Linked DNA regions of Homo sapiens: region 1 is linked to region 2. The links are contacts of gene promoters, found by promoter capture Hi-C in blood cells and fetal thymus (Javierre and others, 2016). All regions are on one chromosome and are shown on one strand. Each heading gives the region's core, a stretch centred on a gene start or on the middle of the fragment in contact. The rest is flanking DNA. Distances are from core to core; before and after follow the strand shown.

Region 1 (6,639 bases), core at 3,678-6,177, 270 kb after region 2:
TAGCCACTGGCTCCACACACCATATCCTGGGGGAGTATCCGGCTGGGCAGAGAGTCCTGCTACTAGAAGTGACAGGTGTCCAGAGATTCATCTGGAAACCATCCTAACTGCTAAACTGGTATCTACAGACAGACTGTCAATGTCCTTATGTGGAGATAAGCAAGCCTATTCTGCCCCAGAATCCTCAGACCCTGACTTCACAACCAGCCAACCATATGAACCCACATTAGCAGTTAAGTATTTATACTTTCCAGCTGGGTGTGATGGCTCATGCCTGTAATCCCAGCACTTTGCGAGGCCAAGGTGGGTGAATTGTTTGAGCCCAGGAGTTCGAGACCAGCTTGGGTAACACGGCGAAACCCCATCTCCACAAAACAAAAAAACAAAAAAAAACAAAAGTTATCTGGGCATGGTGGCATGTGCCTTTAGTCCCAGCTACTCAGGAGGCTGAGGTGGGAGGATCGTTTGACCTGGGGAGGCTGAGGCTGCAGTGAGCTAGGATCACACCACTGCTCTCCAGACTGGGCAACAACGCGAGATCCTGTCTCAAAAAAAAACAAAAAACAAAAAACAACGACAACAGTATTTGCACTTTCCAGAAATTAAATCTGGGTCTGGCTGAATGGAGAGCACAGTATACACACAGTATACACACAGAGGGCTTCACCTACCATCACTCAATGGCAATGGCTAACATTGGTGTTTCATCATCACTGTTATTACTAACACTTCTCCCTCTGTGCCTTGGTGTCTGCTCAAAAGCCACCCCACTGAAGGGCGCATGGTGTCTGTTTCCACATTCATCAGTCCAGAGACAGCTCGTAAGCCCAGGGAAGAAGGTCCCAGGTAGGAGGTGGAAGGTCACTGCGCAGCCTTAGGAACTAAGGTCATTATAATGATAACATCTAATATTTATGCACTTGCTGTGTACATAAAAAGGCTTTGGAGTAAGCACTTTACACGGCACTTAATTCTCATCATAAACCCATGTTTGCTATTCTCACTGGAGAGGTAAGAAACTGAGGCCCGGGAACACCTAGTAAAATCAGGGACCACGATTTGAGGAGCCCAGGGAAACTGGTTACAGCACCCACTCCACAAGGCTGCCTCTGGAGGTGGAACATGGAACAGCACCAAAAGCAGCCCACTGCAAACCCAGCCACTGAGGCAAAGAGAAGGCGGCATTCAAGGGGCAGGCTAGGAAGTGACTTCTGCTCTGAGAGTCATTACAAGAATGTCACGAGAGCCCTTGTGACTCTGCTACCACTTCACCCACTGAGTCATTCACTCCTGCACCGAACACCTCCCTGGGCATCTCTGGCAAGCCCCATGATGGCACAGGTGGCACAGGCATCTCCGAGACATGGTCCCTGTCCTCATGGGAGGAGGGAAGCCCAGGGAGGGCAGGGGTCAGGTCGTTCCAGTGCACCACCACATCCCTCATCTCTCAGCACAAGTACACAACAGATGGCTGCTGAAGGAATGGATGAATAGATGAATAAATGAATGAATGCAAAAATGAAGGAAACCATTCCACAGAAACCCAAGAGGAAAAAAAAGTCCTTTAAAAAAAGTACCTACAAGTAATGATGCATATCCCAAATTCTAATCTATATGTTCATTCTGCAAAAACAACGAGATGTTAGCAGTTTCAGAATTAGTGTTGTCCTACTCGATTTCCCCACACAAGAAACACTATCTGCTCTGCATTCGAATTATAGCAAGAATTAGCCTTTAGCAGGAACCATATGATTTTAACGCACAGATGAATTTCAATTAGACATTCATCTAACCATGCTGATGTGTTTTCCATTTAACCCTAAATTACAGTCCTTTCAAATAACTGTGATCTCCCCTCTGCTTCTCTCTCTTCAATTTTGGTTTGGTTTTGTGAAAGGTCTGCTGGTAAAAATGAGGCAATACCAGTAACTTATCTACAAATTACGGGAAGGAGAAAGTAGGTTAAAAAAGACCAAGAAACTTAAAACAAGTATAATCAAACCACATCCGAGTTGGGCAGGAAACAATAGGAGTCTGTTCTCGCTCATAGGGAAGGAAGGTAAATCGTACCAGGACTATTATCAAACAAGTCACAGAAGGAATTCAGCCTGTGCTCTTCCCAAACCTGAACGATAGTCATCAGATTACAACCAACTTCAACTTCACACTGAGAGAAAGGTAGTAACTGGAAGCAGAAAGCCGACACATGTGGGCTAGCAATTCCCTCCACGCTACAGAGTCTCATTTTCAGTTCAGGTGTCCACCACAACTGGCTCTTACATCCCAAAGGCAGTTTGTGTGTCTCTCACAAGGGAGGTGAGACCTTCATCCTAAGAAGAGGCCATATCAGGAGAGAGGACAGATCTCCTAAACACTTCCCCTGACTAAATGGTTGAGCTACAGCCAGTGTCCTAAACTGAGAGGTTGCCAGTAACCCGCAGTTTGCTTTTGCTCAAACATAAATCCTATGTATCACTGTCAATATCCTGCTTGTGAGGGTGTACTAGAGTTTTGCAAGATGTTACCACTGGGGGAAACTGAGGAAGATCTCTCTGTATTATCTGTTACAACTGCACGCAAATCTATAATTATCTCAGTAAAAAATTTCAATTAAAAAAAAAACTGCATAAAAGCTGGGTGCAGTGGCTCACACCTGTAATCCCAGCACATTGGGAGGCTAAGACGGGCAGATCACTTGAGGCCAGAAGTTCAAGACCAGCCTGGCCAACATGGTAAAATCCCATCTCTACTAAAAATACAAACAAAATTAGCTGGGTGTGGTGGTGCATGCCTGTAGTCCCAGCTATTCGGAGGCTGAGGCACGAGAATCACTTGAACCCTGGAGACAGAGGTTGCAGTGAGCCGAGATCACGCTACTGTACTCCAGCCTGGGCGACAGAGCCAGACTCTGTCAAAAACAAAACAAAACAAAACACACCAAAAAAAAAATCAAAAAAACTAAAACTGCATAATGATGGATAAATGGATAAAGAAAGAAAAAGAAAATGTGGTATATTTCTTGGTACACACACACACACACACACACACACACACATTGAGCCTTAAAGAAATAAATTCTGATATATGCGACAACATGGATGAATCTCGAGGACATTACATTAAGTGAAATGAGCCAGTGACAAAGACAAATGCTGCACGATTCTACTTATACGAGGTATCTAAAATTGTCAAACTCATGCAGAGAGGAGAATGGTGATTGCTGGGGCTGGGGGGATGGAGAGTTGTTGTCCAGTGGGTATGAAGTATCAGTCATGCAGGTGACTCCACAGAGCAATGGATAGCACATTGTACTTCTGAAGTTTCAGTATGCAAGATAAATGAGATCTAGAAATCTGCTGAATGATGCTGTGCCTACACTCAACAATAATGTTAACCATACAAATAAAAATGTGTTAAAAGGGTAGATCTCATGTTGTGTTCTTATCACAACTCTAAAAATGCAGCAGGCCGGCTCATGCCTGTAATCTCAGCACTTTGGGAGGCTGAGGCGGGTGGATCACGAGGTCAGGAGATTGAGACCATCCTGGCTAACATAGTGAAACCCCGTCTCTACTAAAAATACAAAAAATGAGCCGGGTGTGGGGGCAGGCGCCTGTAGTCCCAGCTACTTGGGAGGCTGAGGCAGGAGAATGGCGTGAACCCGGGAGGCAGAGCTTGCAGTGAGCTGAGATCGTGCCGCTGTACTCCAGCCTGGGCGACAGAGCGAGACTCAGTCTCAAAAAAAAAAAAAAAAAAAAAAAAAAAAAAAAAAAATTCTGCAGGCCAGGTGCAGTGTCTCACACTTGTAATCCCAACACTTTGGGAGGCCAAGGCAGGCAGATCAGTTGAGCTCAGGAGTTCAAGAGCAGCCTGGCCAACATGGTGAAAGCCCATTTCTACTAAAAATACAAAAATTAGCTGGGCGTGGTGGCACATGCCTGTAATCCCAGCTACTTGGGAGGCTGACGCTTGAACCCAGAGGCAGAGGCTGCAGTGAGCCGAGATCACGCCACTGCACTCCAGCCTGGGCGACAGAGACTCCATCTCAAAATAAATAAATAAATAAAAATAAATAAACAATGCTGCAAACCCCAGAGCCCAGCAATCTCTGGTTTCATCTCTTAGAACGACAAGTCTAGCTTCAGCACTGCAGAGGGTATCTTACAGTAAGACAATCTGAGATGAAGCCACGGCAGCTATCCTCAGGCTTGGAAATCATGCAACTAAAAAAAAAAAAAAGTCCCGAGGGACCCAGTACATCTCCAGTTGCTATTAACATATTAACATCAATGTAGTCCCAGTTAGCAGTGGGCAGGTTTCACGGTAAACACGCCTCATCTGATGGGGGCAGGCTCTGCGAAGCTTCCCGTAGAAACGTGCATTGATGGGGACCAGATCTTCTGACTGTTGGAGAAGATTCCAAAAATCTGGACTTTTCTTCCTAAATTTTAATGTTGGCAATTCAGAAAATTTTCTTTTAAATACTGCAAAGACCAAACCAAATGAGTCTGGTGGCCAGTTTGCAACCCAGCAGGCACTTGATGGGCACTATATATATATATATATTTTTTTTTTTTTTTTTTTGAGATGGAGTCTTGCTCTGTCGCCCAGGCTGGAGTGCAGTGGCGCAATCTCAGCTCACTGCAAGCTCCGCCTCCTGGGTTCACGCCATTCTCCTGCCTCAGCCTCCCGAGTAGCTGAGACTGCAGGCGCCTGCCACCATGCCCGGCCAATTTTTTTTGTATTTTTAGTAGAGACGGGGTTTCACCGTGTTAGCCAGGATGGTCTCGATCTCCTGACCCGGTGATCTGCCCGCCTCGGCCTCCCAAAGTGCTGGGATTACAGGGGTGAGCCACCGTGCCCAGCGGGCACTTTATATTTTGCCCCCATCTCCATCAGCTCTCTAGAGCAGGGCTTGCGCTGCCTGTTTTCTAAATGGAGTGAAACAACCTGCCCGAGACCAGGTGGCTGGCAGGGCACTCTGCACCTCTAACTGGAGGCCCTGCTGATTCTGCTGACTCAGCCTTCCGTGACTTACATTCATTTAGCAAACGCTAGTTTAAGAAAGTTGCAGAGAAATATCTAGGGCCCCATAAACTCTGAGTCAGCTGTACATTTGCCAGACCGTGTGTTGTCATGAGATGGACCACTAGGAAAATCTTTAACACATCACCCCTGTCACCTCTAGGCCAAAGCCTCTCACCAAACACTTCTTCCCTTTAGAGCGCTTATAAGAGTTAAGACAGTGAGTTATTTGCATATCTGATCCATGTCCACCTCTCTACTGTACTGTAAAGCTCGAATACGGCACAGACTCTTTATGACATTGTGTATCCCCAGAACTAGCATGATACTTGGCCCAAAGAAAGAGCTCCATCAACACTGCTGAATGAATCAAGAAAGGGATAGGCCAGACAGGGGCCATGAAAAGGCCCCAATCAATTCACTAATGCCACCACCACTAACAAGGACAGAGTTTCTGGGAAGCTTTTCAGAGGCGCTAATGCTCCCCTGAATAACAAAATGACCTGGCCAGACCATCATACACCAAAACCAGTGGAAGGGCAGGGGCCTCTTGTAATTGTACTCCATGCAGTGGTGGCCTTTCATCCACAGGGTCACATTCCACCCATTCATGTAGGTGGGGCAGCAAATCTACTACCCCAGGGCGAGCTGGCCCTTTTACCAGCCTGGCCACTGCCTGAGCACCTGGCTGCAGAGAGGAAACCTTTATGAAACAGCCCTTGTATAAAACGCACTATGCTCATCTCACTTACCCACTCTAAGCTCCTTATGGCAGGGATCTCACCTGTCACTGAATCAGCTGCAGCCTGGGCTCCGCATAAGTGAGATGAGCATTTGTGCAGCCCAGACTGCAGCTGATTCAGTGACAGGTGAGATCCCTGCCATAAGGAGCTTAGAGTGGGTAAGACCTTTGAAAAGAGGGAACCAGGTGCATCAGGAACCAGGCTGTAGGTACGGTAAAGGCGCAGGTTCAAAGGCACAAATGCTGGACATGCTGGGGGAAAAGCAAGTCAGACCAGGATTAAGGCAGCTGGAGCTCAGGACATGTGAGCAGGATCTGAGAGATGACAGCAGAGATATACAGAGGACAAGATGGAAAAGCTTCAAGAGAAGTCACAACACTGGCCATCAGGTGTTTTCCCTCAGCAGTGTACCAAATGGAACGCCAAAGCTCCTTCCTGCAGACCACAAACATGCTACTTAGTCCAAAGCTTGATGATCATTTAAAACTAGAGATTACACGTAACAATGCGTTTTTCCCGCTTCTCTAGAAACATGAAAAAACCTAGTAATCCTACATCCATATTCCTGCAGAACAGCAGCAGCCTGGGGTAGAACAGGAGCTGCTCGCCAAGGTGGCATACACTCTCCAATTTGCCACACCCCTCGCCACTCTCTACTGCCCTCACCTGGGGCCTGAGTCATTCATGGATGTTCATCGCCCAACTTCTGTAGACATTAGTTCCTCTGATAAGGCATTTTCTCACTGTGTCCCGATAACAGTGTCTCACAGATATGCAACCTAAGGCCCGGAGTGGTACAATTCCATGTTTAAGAACACACAATCAATCAAATCCAGGTGGTCCCTGATCCCAGCTTCTCTTGGGTATGCAA
Region 2 (6,836 bases), core at 3,536-6,035:
TGTCACTTATGGGATGGGGTGGGGTGGGTAGAAACCTGTTAGGCTTGTTGGAATACTGTGCAAAAATGGAGTGAATAGGCCACGACAAAGATCCCAAGGGATTTACTGAGGAACAGGCACTGTGCTTCCCAGGCTCGGGCTTTGTGAGAGTTCTCTGGACCACTGGATTCAGTCAACTTGCCTGAAGCCACACAGCTGATGGGGAGGGGAGCTGGGACTGGAAGCAGGTGTGTCTGGACCCCTCCACCAGCATTCCTAGAATTCTACTTTCCTGCCCCTCCTATTTTGCAGCTGTTAACGAAACAATCTTGACTGCTTTCTGAAAGCCAGTGACTACTGACTACTTCAAGTAACAGCTGACTTCACCTCTCCTTTCTTCACCTGTGCCTGCTAGAAGAGTCTCATCAAGTCTCCAGGACTGGCGCCACTTTGGAGTCAGCCACTGGCTCATGCCATCGTTCCCTGGCCTCTCACACCTTCTCCTTGGACTCAGGTCCTCTGAGCTCACACCCCTCTACCCGCCACTGAGACACACAATCGTTCCTGTGGTGGGAGCAGAAAGGATCTACTCCAAACATCAAAGCAACCTCTCCCGACAGAGGACTTCAGGCCAGGTTCTGCCAAGCCCCAGGGCTCCCCAAAACACCTTCACCAAGTTCCACCAGTTCCCTGAGTTGTGCTCTCCTCATCTGATCAAGGGAAACACATAATTTCCAATTCACAGGACCATGGGAAAGTGTCCCAAGGCCACTACTACAGCTCATCGTGGCTAAAGCCCAGCAGCTGGGAAGGTCAGCAGCTAGAAGGTTCTTTCCACACTCAGTCCTATGCTGTCGCTTGGGCCTGGATGGCTGGTCCATGCACTCAGGGCAAAATCCAAAGCCCTGCCACAGCCCAGCAAGGCCGTGCCTGATGGATCAGACCCTGCCAACCCCTATGCCTCACCCCTACACCACCCCCTGGCTCGCTATACCAACTCTCCTTTCCTATCTTCAAGCACCCCCACCACAGGGCCTTTGCACTGGCTGTTCTCGCCACCTGGGGTCTTCATCCCACTTTTAGAAAGACGTCAGTGCTAATGTCACCACCTCCAAGAGGCTTTCCCTAACTTCCTTATCTCACCTTACAAACACCCAGTCACCCCTTTCTCTCTGTTTCTTTCCCACATAGCACCCAGTATGGTCTGCACTGATGGTGTGAATTCACTGACTCCCCTAGGTCTGCCTGAAGACCTCTGAGTCCCCTGCGCCTGGCACACAGTAAGAACTCAGTAAATATCTGCTGAATAAATACTGAAGAAGTGAAATAGATATGTTATTATCCCATCTTGCAAATATGGAAACTGAGGCACAGAAAAGCTAAGAAGCTGGCCCCAGGCCACATACTTATGAAATGACCCATTTAAATTCAGACCAGCGGTCAGCAGAATCCACACTGTGAGCCCCACTGCTCGGGGTTCCCAGGGGCACAGACTCCCATGGGAACCTTCCCGACACATGGGTTAGAGGAAAAGCAGGGCTGAGGAATTCCGGGGCAGAGGCTAGTTTCACGATTACACACCCTGGCCAGGAGCTACTTTTCCCAGCAAGGCGCCACCAAAGCCGGAAAGAGAAACTGAAAAGCTAAGTGCCATAAGCCACCAGGATCTTGACTTCCCCCAGATGCTGGCTGGGCCCCTCACATTTGGGGTACGAGGATCTGCCAAGATAGGGAGGAGAATGTTTCCACACATCTGGCTGTGGCTGTGGTTTAGTAAGCTGTGGATATAGGGCTGGTCCATCCGCCCTGTGACAAGAGGTCATTGTGCCAAGCACCGACTCCATGCCTGGCATTTTGCCCTTGGCTCTGCATGTCTGGCTGCTCTGTGAGGTACGAGATGTCCAGAGATCACTTTGCAGTTGGGGCAAATCAGGTCCCAAGAGGACAGGTCACTTGCCCAAGGTCATGCAGCAGGTCTGGGGTCAGAGCCTGGTCCCATCCTACCGAGCACTCTGAGCCCCTCAGGGTTTCGCACTGCCTGGCTTCCTGTGAGCCTGGTGCCCAGCCCTCCAGCAGAACAGCCCACAAGGTGGATGCTTGTCAACCAGCAGATTTCCTTTTCTCTTTCGGCATCTGGATTTGGTTTCATTTTGAACACAGGACTTCAGAAAATGAAACCAAAGCTGTCTGTCACTGGTGGCAGTGAGGAGAACCCACGTGTGCTGAGTGTACCTTTAGAAGCTTTCCTGCTCCCTTGCTGTGCCTTCCCTGGCCTGTGGTCCCTGGACTAGGGCTTCAAACATAGATATAAGGCAGTGCTTTGGGAAGCCAGGGCAGGAGGGTCACTAAAGGACAGGAGTTCGAGACCAGCCTGGGCAACGTAGTGAGACCCCATCCCTACAAAAAATTTAAAAAATTAGCCGGGTGTGGTGGCATGTGCCTGTAGTCTCAGCTACTCAGGAGGCTGAGATGGGAGAATCTCTTGAGCCCAGGAGGTCGAGGCTATAGTGCCTCCTCGATCCTATCACTACACTCCAGCCTGAGCAACAGAGCTACACTCCATCTCTTTAAAAAAATGGACACAGGGGTTGAAGCCATGCGTCTGTGGGCTCCAACACACTGCCACACCCACAGGCACCCTCAGATGAACAACAAACATCTACCGACTGCTTATTAGACACTACGGGCTGTTTTAAGCACCTGACCCATAATCACTCATTTAATTCCCATACAACCCCGGGATGGAGGTACTATTTATTTATTTTTTTTTGAGACAGGGTCTTAGTCTGTTGCCCCGGCTGGAGTGCAGTGACACAATCGTGGCTCACTGCAGCCTTGACCTCCTGGGCTCAGGCAATCCTCCTGCTTCAGCCTCCCAAGTAGCTGGGACTGCAGGTGCAATCCACTACGACTGGCTGATTTTTGTACTATTTTTTTTTTTTTTTTTTTTTTTTTGTAGAGAGGGGGTCTCACTTTGTTGCCCAGGCTGTTCTCAAACTCCTGGGCTCAAGCAATCCTCCTGTCTTGGCCTTCCAAGTGCTGGGATTATAGGCATGAGCTACTGCGCCCTGCTAGAGGTACTATTATTATCCCCATTTCACAGATAAAGAAACCATGGCAGAGAGGTTAATTACATGCTCAAGGTCACAAGAATAGAAAGGTGCAGATTTGGAACTGGGTCTCCTTGTATTCCATCACCCTCCACAGAGTGTGGCCTCCAGCAGATGTTCAGTGGACATCTCTCGAATGATCACACACCTGACCTCTGGTGCAGGCAAGGTTCTGCATCTTCTCTCACCCCCTCACGCACGCGCACGCACACACACGCACAACCTAGGAGGCTACACCAATGACCACCACCAGCCCTGGCCACATGCAGATTCAGGGCACTGATGGGGTGCTAAGCTGGGCTGATTCTGGGCCACTCCCTGTGTTCAGGAGGTTAATAAGGACCTAGGCTCTGCCTGGGGAAAGAGGTATCGTGGGGCCAGGGAGGCGGGAAGGGACTGGGCACCAGGGCTTCCAGGAGAGAAGCCGTCTGAGAGCTGTCTGTAGAGGGCAGTGTGTCCCAGTGTGAGGCCAGTAACCAAGTGCCCAGCCTAGCCAGGTTTTTATGTGGCCCCTTGTGATGCTGGGGCTCCTCACATGCCTTCATTCAAAAATACACGGAGCAGCCAGGCACCTACTCCATGGCCTCGCACGACAATCGGAATCACTAAATCACAAACACGTGTGCAAATTACAGCCCCGACCACCGACCGCCCACCATCCCAAGCCCCGGCCGTGTGTGTGGTGGGAAGGCAGTCTTTGAAGGGCAGATGCCTGACGGAGCAGTAGGAGGGGGAAATCTATGAGGAAGGGGTCGGGGGAGAGGAGGGCTAGGAAACCAGGTTTGGGGATTCATCACGTCTGAGAATGCACCATTTTTTCACTGGGCTCCAATTTGATGTCGTCCAGCTGCACCTCTCCCCAAAATGAAGACGGGGAAGGCGAGATCCAGGTCCAGAGCTCCCAATCTGCAAGCCATTGCAAATCCCAGCCCCTCCCCAGCCTCAGTTTCTTCCGCAGCCGGGTAGTGGGAGCGCAGGGAGGGCAGTCGAGGCCACCAGGGACCTTGCCCGGCCCCGCCCAGTTTCCGAGGAACTGGGCCGGGGTGGAGGCGCCCGCGCCGCCAGGGGTTCCTCTGAAGCCTGTGGTCAGGCCGCCGCTTCCCGGGAAGCCCGAGCCAAGACCAGAGACCGCGGCCGGCCGGGGCTTCGGGACAGCAGGGCGGGCGACTGAGGGCGTCGACGGCGGGTGGAGCAGGGGCTAGGAGGGGGTCTACGGGTGGGGTCAGGCTCAGGGTTGGGGACACCTTCTGTGGCCTCCTAGGGGGATCTGGCTGCAGGGGAGGAGAGGACAGGGCTCTGCCCCCGGCGGGTGTGGAGACAGCTGGGGCGGAGGAGGGTGTGTCAGGGCGCGTCCCAAGAGGGCCTGGCGGCAGAAAGTGGAACCCGAGGTAGCGGGGCAAAATCGGGGTCGCCAAGTCCGAAGGAGGGGTCCGAGAAGTGGCCGGAAGGCGCAGGGTCGGGGCCAGAGCCCCTCGAGAGGCGGGTGCTGGGGCAGGTGCGAACAGGCGGGCAGAGGGCCCCGCGGGAGGGTCCAGAAGAGAGGGAAACAGGGCCGAAGCGGTCCTCGCCGGACGCCACCGCGGAAAGAGAAACCAAAAGTGGAGCTGGGGGCGGGGCCGGCAGGGGGCGGGGCCTCCCGCCGTCGCCAGCCCCGCCTCCGAGCCGGTTTAAAAGACTGGCGCAGGGGCGGGCGCCGAACAGAGCGAGCTGCGGCCGTGGCAGCTGCACGGCTCCTGGCCCCGGAGCATGCGCGAGAGCCGCCCCGGAGCGCCCCGGAGCCCCCCGCCGTCCCGCCCGCGGCGTCCCGCGCCCCGCCGCCAGGTGAGCCGGGCCCTGGGCGAGGAGGCGGGAGGGAGGAGGGAGGGGAGTCCAGGGCAGCCAGGAGTCGGGCGAGCCTCGGGGGCTGCAGAATGGGGTCGCGGCCGCGATGCCCCTGACCCTCGCCGGCCCCACCCAGGCCGCCCCCCGCGCGCGGGGCTCCCGCAGCACAGCCTTTCTCCGGCCCTAGCCCAAATCGCCCAGACCAGGCGCGGATCCCAGCCTGGCCAGCAGGCGGCGGGCGCGGGGCGGCGAGCCGGGGCCGGACGGCTGGAGCCAGAACCGGCTGCTCTCCACGCCCCCCTCTCGGTGCTGCCCGGAGGCCGGACTCCGCCTCCACCGAGCCCCCACCCGCCGGGAAGAGCTCCGCGGAGTACAGAGCCCATTTTCTAGCTGTGTCCACTGAGGCTGAACGGATCCGCGCGGACTTGGTGCTCCGTGCTCGCCCCCTAGGGCCGGGTCCGCCGGGAGCGCCGCCCTCCGGAGTTGTCCGGCCGGCGCACACCTGCCCGGCCCCGCAGCGCCCCAGCTCACCTCTTTGTCTCTCCCGCAGCGCACCCCCGGACGCTATGGCCCACCCCTCCGGCTGGCCCCTTCTGTAGGATGGTAGCACACAACCAGGTGGCAGCCGACAATGCAGTCTCCACAGCAGCAGAGCCCCGACGGCGGCCAGAACCTTCCTCCTCTTCCTCCTCCTCGCCCGCGGCCCCCGCGCGCCCGCGGCCGTGCCCCGCGGTCCCGGCCCCGGCCCCCGGCGACACGCACTTCCGCACATTCCGTTCGCACGCCGATTACCGGCGCATCACGCGCGCCAGCGCGCTCCTGGACGCCTGCGGATTCTACTGGGGGCCCCTGAGCGTGCACGGGGCGCACGAGCGGCTGCGCGCCGAGCCCGTGGGCACCTTCCTGGTGCGCGACAGCCGCCAGCGGAACTGCTTTTTCGCCCTTAGCGTGAAGATGGCCTCGGGACCCACGAGCATCCGCGTGCACTTTCAGGCCGGCCGCTTTCACCTGGATGGCAGCCGCGAGAGCTTCGACTGCCTCTTCGAGCTGCTGGAGCACTACGTGGCGGCGCCGCGCCGCATGCTGGGGGCCCCGCTGCGCCAGCGCCGCGTGCGGCCGCTGCAGGAGCTGTGCCGCCAGCGCATCGTGGCCACCGTGGGCCGCGAGAACCTGGCTCGCATCCCCCTCAACCCCGTCCTCCGCGACTACCTGAGCTCCTTCCCCTTCCAGATTTGACCGGCAGCGCCCGCCGTGCACGCAGCATTAACTGGGATGCCGTGTTATTTTGTTATTACTTGCCTGGAACCATGTGGGTACCCTCCCCGGCCTGGGTTGGAGGGAGCGGATGGGTGTAGGGGCGAGGCGCCTCCCGCCCTCGGCTGGAGACGAGGCCGCAGACCCCTTCTCACCTCTTGAGGGGGTCCTCCCCCTCCTGGTGCTCCCTCTGGGTCCCCCTGGTTGTTGTAGCAGCTTAACTGTATCTGGAGCCAGGACCTGAACTCGCACCTCCTACCTCTTCATGTTTACATATACCCAGTATCTTTGCACAAACCAGGGGTTGGGGGAGGGTCTCTGGCTTTATTTTTCTGCTGTGCAGAATCCTATTTTATATTTTTTAAAGTCAGTTTAGGTAATAAACTTTATTATGAAAGTTTTTTTTTTAAAAAAAAATAAGTTTTCTAGCGAGTGTGCTTTGGCCAAAAGTTTAACTTGGTTCTGAACAGGTCCAGGGGAGAGGGTCCTAAGGCTGACCTGCTGGGCTGCAGGTGGTGTACGGGGCCTGCCCTGTGGCTGGGCATCCCTCACGGTTCCACCCACAACTCTCCAGGGAGAGAAACGGTTGGTCTAGTTTTGGCGTGTGTCCGGTAAGACAGCAGCTCGCGTTTGAGCACTTTGTGCGTGCCAGCCCTAATTCTGTGCTTTGCA

Evidence for each region. The method cuts DNA at HindIII sites, captures the fragments that hold promoters and counts their contacts. A CHiCAGO score of 5 or more calls a contact.
Region 1: a fragment that was not itself captured here is called in contact with the fragment with the promoter of SOCS1 in region 2 in 6 of 17 cell types (activated CD4 T cells, M0 macrophages, total CD4 T cells and 3 more); the score reaches 11.0 in activated CD4 T cells.

What each region holds. Positions count from the first base shown.
Region 1 is chr16:10,983,148-10,989,786 of GRCh38, reverse strand. All of the region lies in intron 10 of CLEC16A (C-type lectin domain containing 16A), which reads right to left. Among named protein-coding and RNA genes, the nearest start is that of CLEC16A, 42 kb to the right of the region's middle. The HindIII fragment of the contact is 1,125 bases long and covers 4,365-5,489 here.
Region 2 is chr16:11,254,153-11,260,988 of GRCh38, reverse strand. SOCS1 (suppressor of cytokine signaling 1) reads left to right here and starts at 4,785. Exons shown (of 2, transcript NM_003745.2): 1 at 4,785-4,910; 2 at 5,461-6,572. The coding sequence starts at 5,511. The coding sequence ends at 6,146. All of the region lies in intron 1 of LOC105371082 (a long non-coding RNA gene), which reads right to left. RefSeq lists enhancers at 2,009-2,238, 6,750-6,836 and silencers at 4,140-4,339, 4,590-5,329, 5,430-5,479, 5,490-5,639, 6,050-6,139. The HindIII fragment of the contact is 18,048 bases long and covers 2,223-6,836 here.